Linked DNA regions of Homo sapiens: region 1 is linked to region 2. Evidence: promoter capture Hi-C in 16 types of primary human blood cells and fetal thymus (Javierre and others, 2016). All regions are on one chromosome and are shown on one strand. The core of a region is centred on a gene start or on the middle of the fragment in contact, and the rest is flanking DNA. Distances in the headings are between cores, read along the strand shown.

Region 1 (4,791 bases), core at 1,393-3,892, 61 kb before region 2:
CTGCCAGTCCTCCTGGTCTTCCAGCAAGTTCTTGCACTGCCTGACTTGGCATCTGTTGTATAATAAAGAATTTGACTGGCCTTTACCTCTGGTTTCTAGGAATGAGACTTTAAATCCTTGGAATTTCTCATGTCATAGGAGTGTCTTTGTTCTTCATGAGCCTCTTGGACCACACCTGAGTTAACGCTAAGAGATAAGAAGACTCAGAATGGGGGCTGGTCACCAATAAGACCACTCCATGATGAGAAGAGTTGGAACTTTGAGTCAGCCTGCCCTTTAGGGAAGGAATGGAGATGGAGATTGAGTTCAATCACATGGCAAGTGACTCAATCAATCATGCCTACATAAAGAAATCCAATAAAAACTCTGCACACTGAAGCTAACTGGAGCTTCCTGGTTGGTGAACACATAAATATACCCAGAGGGGCTGTGTACCCCGAATCCATGGGGAGAGGCACGGAAGCCCTGAATTTAGGACCCTCCCAAACCTTGCCCTATGTGTCTCTTCATGTGGCTGGTTCTGATTTGTATCCTTACAATAAAACTGTCAAGTATGGTGCTTTTTTAGGTTCTGTGAGCTGTTCTAATGAATTAGTGAATATAAAGGGGGTTGTGGGAACCTCCCCTAAGCTTTGTAGCCATTTGGTCAGAAGAGCAGGTGGCCTGAGGACCCCACTGTGGCTAGTATTTGAAGTAGGACAGTCTTGTTGGCAACCACGCCCTTAAGATTGTGGAATCTGACACTAACTTCAAATGCCTAGTGTCAGAATCAAATTGCAGTATACTAGTTGGTGTCTGAATAACATTCCTCTTCTCTTTCCAAATGCCTGCCCTGAGGACTTCAGGCTCCAGCATCAGGAGCAAAGACAGCAGCTTTACAGAGACTCCCACAATCATGTAAGGTCAAATCTCTATAACACACACACATATATGTATAAGTGCACAGATATGTATGGTGGCCCAGCCTCTCTGATTGAATGCTGACACATACACATGCCACATCAATTAGAGTCTCTCTGCCTTCTCTACTCAGTGTATTTCTCACTAACTACTCAAGTGCCCTGACCTAGTCATTTATTACACACCTGCCATTTGAGAGTCGCCTGGGCATACAGAGAGGGAATGATGCCATTCAGTTCTACACACGCTGAGTGGTTGAATATTGCAACCATGCTGCAAAGGAAGAACAAACCACTGGCACATCTGGACAGGCTTTGAGGAAATCTAGCATTTCCCTGGCTTTGGAAGCTTAGGGGAGATTTCTATGGGCTGAAGATCAGGTGAGGACTTGGCGGGAACCTTTCCTTTCTGAGAATTTTTCCAATGCTTATGTCCAAACCATACACAACCTGGGGTTGTGTGCAGTTTTCCTCCTTGCTTGTTTGATTTCCCATTTTTTTTTCTTTTTTTGAGGCAGAGTCTCACTCTGTGACCCAGGCTGGAGTGCAGTGATGTGATCTCAGTTCACTGCAACCTCTGTATCCTGGGTTCAAGGGATTCTTGTGTTTCAGACTCCCAAGTAGCTGGGATTACAGGCACGCACCACCATGCCCAGCTAATTTTTGTATTTTTAGTAGAGACAGGGTTTCACCATGTTGGCCAGGCTGGTCTTGAACTCCTGACCTCAGGTGATCCACCCACCTCGACCTCCCAAAGTGCTGGGATTACAGGTGCAAGCCACCATGCTCAGCCTCCATTGCTTTTATGTATCTGTCTCTCCCCACTAAGTTGTCACAGCAGTAATAACAGCTGCCATTGGGAAAGGACCCGCTCTGAGCCCAGCACTTACCACATGTTATCTTTAAAGCTTACAATTCACGTGTTGGCATTATTATTTCCATTTTACAGATGGGAAGACTGAGGCTTATAAAGTCCCCTGTCTTGGGTAGAGGACCATGCAAATGAGTCAGTGGCAGAGCTGGGATTTGAACCCACTTTCTCTCTGGTCTAAAGTCCAGGCTGAGGCCTCCCCTGAGCTCCTTCAGCGTAGGAAGACACCTCTGCCACCCTGCTGTGCAGCAATGCACATGGCAAAAATCGCTGCTCTGTGTATCTGTTGGATTTTCCTCCTCCCCTGTCACCCCTTAACTGGCTCCTTTTCTTGCAGGTGACAAGGAGGCAGCGGGAAGAAAGGCTTTCCTCACTTGCCCCTGCTTTAGGCAGATCACTGGATATTTTTAGCAGCCTAGGAAGCCTCCGAGTAACACGGGCTCAGGTTTTGAACTTGCCTGGTCAGCCCTGCCTCCTGATTCCTCTCGCAAAAGGTTTATGGTGGACTCCCAGCAGCTTTGCTGATGCAGCTAGTAATGTTTATAACCATAATCAAGCACTCCGAGAGCCCCGGCGCTGATTTCTTACCCATCTCTATCCTGTAACAGAGGATTTTTCAATCGAGTAGGTTTGCTTCATTCGTTTTAAAATAGCTCCAGCCCAGCTCTGAGGATCACACGGGGCCTCGCACAGGGATTTGTACTTAGAGTCATGGAAATACATTTATTTTACTTTCCTCTTTCTCTCTCTTTGAGGGATTTTAATACATCACGCAGGAGTATTCCTCACATGGCAGGAAAAAGCCTTGCTTTGCACTGAAGACAAAGAACTGCATGTCGTGTTTACTGATAGAGAAGAGCTCCACTCGGCTTCACCCATGGGCATCTCAGGATTAGATAATTAGGGAGCTCCTTAGTGCTTACCCTGGGGGTGTCAGCTGGAAATCTACTGTCACAATGGTGATCTTCCTGCAATTTAAATGCTGGATGTGGGGTTGGCGGAGGGAAGGCGTGTTAGAGGGGCGTCACCTTGCTAGGTTTAGTGCAGCAGGAAAGAGGCAGCATGTCTTGAATTGACTTGAACCTGATAGACAACATGAGGTCACAACCCACCCCGATTTATCAACAGGACAACTAGCCTGCAGATATCCACTCTAAAGTGCTGGGAGGGACAGGAAAGCCACGCCTAGGTGGACCCTGCCCAGGATGAAAGGGAGAAAACCAGACTGAGCTCAGTGATGACCTAACTTCAGAGGCATCACATTCTCTCATCCTCACTGTCCCACCTTCAGGGAACCTGCAGCCAGGGACCCAGGGCCTTTGAGCCTGCACTGCTGGGCTAAAAATCTAGAAAACCTATTTGTTTCTTTTTTTTAATTCGTATTTTTTAGTTAGAGACAGCGTCTCTCTCTGTTGCCCAGGCGGGAGGGCAGTGGCACAGTCACAGCTCACTGCAGACTTCAACTCCTGGGCTCAAGCAGTCCTCCCACCTTGGCCTCCAAAAGTGCTGGAATTACAAGCATATTTGTTTTTTCCTCTTTTCCTTCCCTTCCCTTTCCTCCTTTCCTTTGTTCCTCCCTTTACTCCCTCCCTTCTTCCTTCCCTCCCTTCCATGGAGGTACTCAGCTTTATTGACCAATCCCTGTTGGGTATTTAGCTTGGTTCCAGTGTTTGGCTTCTACAATTTCTGCTTTAATGAAGAAGCTTGTATGTAGTTATTTTGCATCTGTCCCAGTGTCTCTGTCGGATGAAGTTCTAGGAGTGGAATTGCTTGGAGAAAGAGGGTATCTGTTTCCTGTGGCTGCTGTTAACCAAGGACCACAAACAAAGTGGCCCAAGACAACGCATATTATTCTCTCACAGTCCTGGAGGTCAGAAGTCTAAAAAAAATTTCACTGGGCTAAAATCAAGGTGTGGACAGGGCTGGTTCCTCCCACGGGCTCTAGGGAAGAATCTGTTTCCTCGTCTTTTTCAGCTTCCTTGGCTTGTGGGCCCTGCCTTCATCTTCAAAGGACTTCCCTGTACCTCTGCTCGGTCATTACATCACCTTTCCTCTCTGACCTCCCTCCTCCCTCTTACAAGGACCCCTGTGATGACATCAGACCCACTGGGCCAACCTAGAATGACCCTTCCATGTCAAGATTCTTGCTTTAATCACATTTGCCAGGTCCTTTTTGTCACTTAGGTAACACTCACACATTCCAGGGATTAGAATGTGGACACCATGATTCAGCCTGCCTCAAAGAGTATGCACTTTTATACTTTTGAGAAACTGTAAATTTCACTTCATAGAGTTTGTAACAATTTACCTCCCCGCCATCAATATCTAGGCACCTTCATTTCCCATACTTTACCAATACATCTCTATCAAACCAATTCTTTGCAAATTTAATGATTAAAAAAATCATACTCAGTTTTTTCTTTTCTTTTCTTTTCTTTTCTTTCTTTCTCTTTCTTTTTTTTTGTCTCTATCACCCAGGCTCGAGTACAGTGGCATGATCTCAGCTCACTGCAACCTCCACTTCTAGGTTCAAGTGATTCTCCTGCCTCAGCCTCCCAAGTAGCTGGGATTACAGGCATGCATCACCACATCTGCCTAATTTTTGTATTTTTAGTAGAGATGGAGTTTCACTATGTTGGCCAGGCTGGTCTGGAACTCTTGACCGCAAGCGATCCATCTGCCTCAGACTCTCAGAGTGCTGGGATTACAGGCACGAGCCACCATGCCCTGCCTCAGTGTGATTTTAATGAGCATTTCTCTTATGAGTGAGACTGAGGATGTGTTTACATATTTAAGAGCCATTTGTATTTTATTTTGGGTACACTATCTTTTCACACCGTTTTTCTTTGGGCTGTTGGGCTTTTCCTTCAATTTGTCATTCCTTAGAGGAAAATTTTAGCCCTTTGAGTTGAATTGCTAAGGGTGTTATTACTAACCCCTTTTTATAGATGAAGAAATGGAGGCTCAGAGACCTTAAAGAAGCTGCTCAAGGCTACAGGCTGATGCCTGGCAGAGTTGGGA
Region 2 (4,726 bases), core at 484-2,983:
ATGGAGTCGTGCTCTGTTGCCCAAGCTGGAGTACAGTGGCACAATCTCAGCTCACTGCAACCTCTGCTTCCCGGATTCAAGTGATTCTTGTGTCTCAGCCTCCCAAGTAGCGGGGACTACAGGCATACACTACCATGCCCAGCTAATTTTTGTAGTTTTAGTAGAGATGGGGTTAAGCCATATTGGGCAAGCTGGTCTTGAACTCCTGGCCTCAAGTGACCTGCCCACCTTGGACTCCCAAGGTGCTGGGATTAGAGGTGTAAGCCACTATGCCCAGCCTTTTTTTTTTTTTAAACTATTTGTAGAAACAGGGTCTCCCTATGTTGCCCAAGCTGGATCTGCCTTCCTTTTATAAGGATACCTGTCATTGGATTTGAGGTCCACCCAGGTAGTCTAGGATGATTCAATCTTGAGATCCTAAAATTAATTTACACCTGCAAAGATCCTTTCTCCATTAAGGTCACATTCACAGGTGCTGCAGCACATTAGACTGTGGACATATCTTTTCTTTTTTTGGTGGAGGTGTGACTGGGGAGACACTATTAAACCCACTACAGTGTAAAAGTAGGCCAGATGTGATGGTTCACACCTGTAATCCCAAGACTTTGGGAGGCCGAGGTGGGCGGATCACTTGAGGTCAGGAGTTCGAGACCAGCCTGGCCAACATGGCGAAACCTCGTCTCTACTAAAAATACAAAAATTAGCTGGGCGTGGTGGCGCACCTGTAATCCCAGCTAGTCGGAAGGCTGAGGCAGGAGAATCACTTGAACCCAGGAGGCAGAGGTTGCAGCGAGCCGAGAGCGCGCCACTGCATTCCAGCCTGGGCGACAGAGGAAGACTCTATCTAAATATATATATATACATATACATACATATATATATATATATATATATATATATATATATATATATATATATATATATAGCCAAACTTAGCTTTATTTCAGAGCCGTTGCTGGGCCTGGGAGTGGAGAGAGATCAGGAGAGCGCCACCAGCTTGGATCGGTTAGTGAGCTGCGGTGGTTTTTGTTTTTGTTTTTTTTTTCTTGACAGTGTCTCCTATTGTTTTGTATTTCTCTTTTGTTTTGAGGTTTTCTGCCATCTTTTCTGGAAGGTGCATGATGCTCAGCTCTGTGGTTATTTTTGCCCAACAGCTGTGTTTCCGGTGAGCGGCTGTGGGATTCTTCTGACTCAGCAAAACTGGAGCAGTAACCGTCAAGAAGCCATTCAAGCAAGGCTAGAAATAAAGAAGCTGTTTCTTCACCGTCCCCTCCTCCTCCTCTCACTTCCCTCCCCATGGGTACCTTTTGAAAGTCTCACAAAGCACTTTGAAAAAACTACTTGGACCAGTATGCTGGAGGGTTGACTGAAGGTGGCCCCTCCGCTGGGCTTTAAGCAAACAGATAAATTCTGGAAAGGACTCTGCCCTGCCAGCCTGGCTGTGGCCTTCGGAAGGCCCCTCCCAACATGCCCCCACCCGCCGATCACATGGACTGTGTCTTACAAGTTTCCCACAGGTCTGACTAGTGAAAGCAGAGGCTGTGGGGACTTTTGTGGTTTTTCTAGGGTGTGGCCCCACTTTGCCTTCACCAGGCCTGAGTATCTATGCCGTGCAGCTTGCCTGCTTCTCAAAGGTCATGATTTCCACCCTGGGGCTGGGAGGCAGCTACATATTCCTACCCGCTGGCACAGGATCTGGCCCTGCACTCCCGAGAGGTGGCTGCGAGCCTTGCGGAGGCAGAGAGAGAACAAAATGGAAAGGAATCTTCCTCCCGGAGAGCCATCTTCTGTGCATGCCGGTGCCTGCAAAAGACAGGCGAGGCGAGACAGCTGCACCTCGGGCCTCGTCGCTGTTGCTGAGAAAGAAAGGAACAAATAAATTTAGCTCCATCCTACGCATCCTTTGCAGCTGCTGATTGACCAAACAGAAAGAGGCCTCTATTTCAACCCTGGCTTCTCAGCTTTTTGCCTGATGGGGTCTGCTATCGCCCTTTACAAGGGACTTTTGAAGGAGGAAACGGGCCGTGGCCTTATTTAGCGCCTGGCCGGCTGGAGGCTGCACAGACAGGAGTTCAAGTTTAGGGTGTCTCTTCTTGCCCATCCCAAAGCAAAATGGTGGCCCGGAAACGTTTCCAAATGGGCTTCGGCTCCTGGAATTTCCAATGTATTTATTTGGAAGCCAGAACATGGTGGGTGGAGAGATGTGTAACTGTGCCGAGGCCAGCCTATAGCTCCCGAAGCCATTAGTTTAATAGCACCATTTGTGGAAATAAAGAACTCGCTGACTGGGCTTGAAGGTAAAAGACTGGAACGAAGCACTGAGGGGGTTTCGTGGGGCTCACTAGCGTGGAGAGGTCCCTGCGGGATGGGGGACAAGCTGTGTGGACTTTGAGTCAGATAGACTTGGGTTCCAGTCCTAGCTCTATCACCTAAAGGCACGTTGTCTCTGGACAAAGAGAGCCTTTGCTCTGTGATATGTAAGTGAAATGCTAGCTGTGACACTGAACCTCTCTGAGCCTCAGTTCCTTATCTGTAAAACAGCAATGATGACACGAGGTCGTCACAAGGATTAAATGACAAAGAATACTGAACCTACATAGCCCAGCTCTTGCTGTGCCATGATGGTGTAGAGTGGCCCCTGTTTGACCTGCCCAGGCCCATTCTCCAAAGAAGCTGTACAGGTGAGGTGGCTCACCCCTGTAATCCCAGTACTTTGGGAGGCCGAGAAGGGAGGATCACTTGAGCCCAGGAGTTTGAGGCCAGCCTGGGCAACATAGAGAGACCCCATCTCTGCAAAAAAATAAAAAAAATTAGCTGGGTGTGGCGGTGCACGCCTGTGGTCCCAGCTACACAGGAGGCTAAGGTGGGAGGATCCCTTGAGCCCAAGAGGTCCAGGCTGCAGCCTGGGTGACAGAGCAAGACCCTGTCTCTAAAAAAAAAAAAAAAAAAAAAAAATAGAAGGTGTTTCTTCCCCAATCCTCTCCTTTCATTTCCCTCCCCGTGAGTACTATTTGGAAGTCTCACACGGCACTTTTTAAAAACCACTTTAAGTCCGGGTGCAGTGGCTCATGCCTGTAATCCCAGTACTTTGGGAGGCCAGGGTGGGTGGATTACTTGAGATCAGGAGTTCAAAACCAGCCTGGCCAACATGGTGAAGCCTCATCTCTACCAAAAATACAAAAATTAGCGGGACACGGTGGCACATGCCTGTAGTCCCAGCTACTCAGGAGGCTGAGGCAGGAGAATCGCTTGAACCCGGGAGGTGGAGGTTGCAGTGAGCCGAGATTGTACTACTGCCCTCTAGTATGGGTGGCAGAGTGAGACCCTGTCTCAAACAATAACAACACTTTAACCAGTATCCGGGAGGGCTGCTGAAGGTGGCCTCTGCTAGGCTTTACACAAGCAGATGGGTTCTGGAAAGGACTCCACCAAACCAGCCTGGCTTTGCCTTTGGAAGGCCCCTCCCAAGATGCCCCCACTCGCCACTCACATGGACTGGGACTCTGTCTTACAAGTTTCCCACTGGCCTGAGCAGAAGGTGGGAGGAATTTCTGTGGTTTTCTAGGTTGGCCACAGAATACTACTCTTCCTCCTCCCACTCTTTTTTCCGTAAGATTTGGGGCTCAACTTACTCTCAAACTCTGGAAGTGAGGAGGTGGCCCAGGCCTGATCATGGGGTCTCATATGCCCCTGGCCATAGTGATTCATTTCTGGAAACATCCCTGGGACTCAAGCTGGGACAATCAGAGTGAATTTCAGGAATGTTGGATGAATCTCTTAGGAGGGAGGAAATCTTTCTGCTGGATTTCTAAAAGCTCAAGTTTTACACTCAGTGCTGCCATTGGCTCTCTTTGTATAATGGAAGGAAGAGTTGTTCAGAGAATGAAGCTAACAGAGATGAAACCAAAAATGGAGAGATCATATGCTGATGACCATTTGAGCCCCTTGATCCCGCCATGCCTGAAGCCATCACCCCTTCAACTTGCTAGTTATGTGAGTCAATATGGTTCCTTTTTGGTTTGACCTAGTCTGAATTAGGCTTTTGTCTCTTGCAGCTAGAAGAGTCCTAAGTCATACCAGCTTCATAAACCTTTGGAATCTGAATTTACCTGTGGCCTCATCCAGAACTGTGAGGCAGGCCGATGACACTCAGTGCCACCTGCAGTAGTGGAGAGTCTGTGGTGAGACTCTACCTTCTGGCACGCTGATTTCCCTTAGACCCCTCTTGTGGACAGGAAGGCAAAACAATGAGAGAAGGGAAAGAAAAAAGGGGGGAAAAAAAGGGAGCGGGTTTCCTAGTAAAGTAGATTGGGCTTGAATCTCTTCTTTGTCACTCATGAGCTCTGAGACCTTAGGCAAGTGACTAACTCCCTGGGGCCCCCATTTTCTCACCTGTGGGACTTGAGTTGCAGTGAGCATATATGGGTACTAGATTCTAAAGTCAAGGTGAAGGAAAACATTTCCGTGAAAATCCCTTAACTCCGCCCCCTTCCACAAGGTATGGCACAGCCACAAGTCAGCAAATTGTCGTAATGTCAGAGACTTGTGAACAAGAGCAACTCCATCTTGAATAGGAGCTGGGTAAAAAGGGCTGCATTCCCGATGATTAAGACATTCTAAGTCACAGGATGAGATAGGAGGTCAACAAAAGATACAGGTCATAAAGACCTTGCTGATAAAACAGGTTGCAGTAAGATGCCAGCTAAAACCCACCAAAACCAAGATG

What was found. The method cuts DNA at HindIII sites, captures the fragments that hold promoters and counts their contacts. A CHiCAGO score of 5 or more calls a contact.
Region 1: a fragment that was not itself captured here is called in contact with the fragment with the promoter of MAP1LC3B2 in region 2 in 1 of 17 cell types (monocytes); the score reaches 6.1 in monocytes.

Annotation. Positions count from the first base shown.
Region 1 is chr12:116,618,482-116,623,272 of GRCh38, reverse strand. No RefSeq gene overlaps it. Among named protein-coding and RNA genes, the nearest start is that of LINC03088, 41 kb to the left of the region's middle. The HindIII fragment of the contact is 1,666 bases long and covers 1,810-3,475 here.
Region 2 is chr12:116,556,388-116,561,113 of GRCh38, reverse strand. MAP1LC3B2 (microtubule associated protein 1 light chain 3 beta 2) reads right to left here and starts at 1,733. Exons shown (of 2, transcript NM_001085481.3): 1 at 1,681-1,733. RefSeq lists enhancers at 1,140-1,239, 1,280-1,329, 1,550-1,889, 1,729-2,238. The HindIII fragment of the contact is 18,876 bases long and covers 1-4,726 here.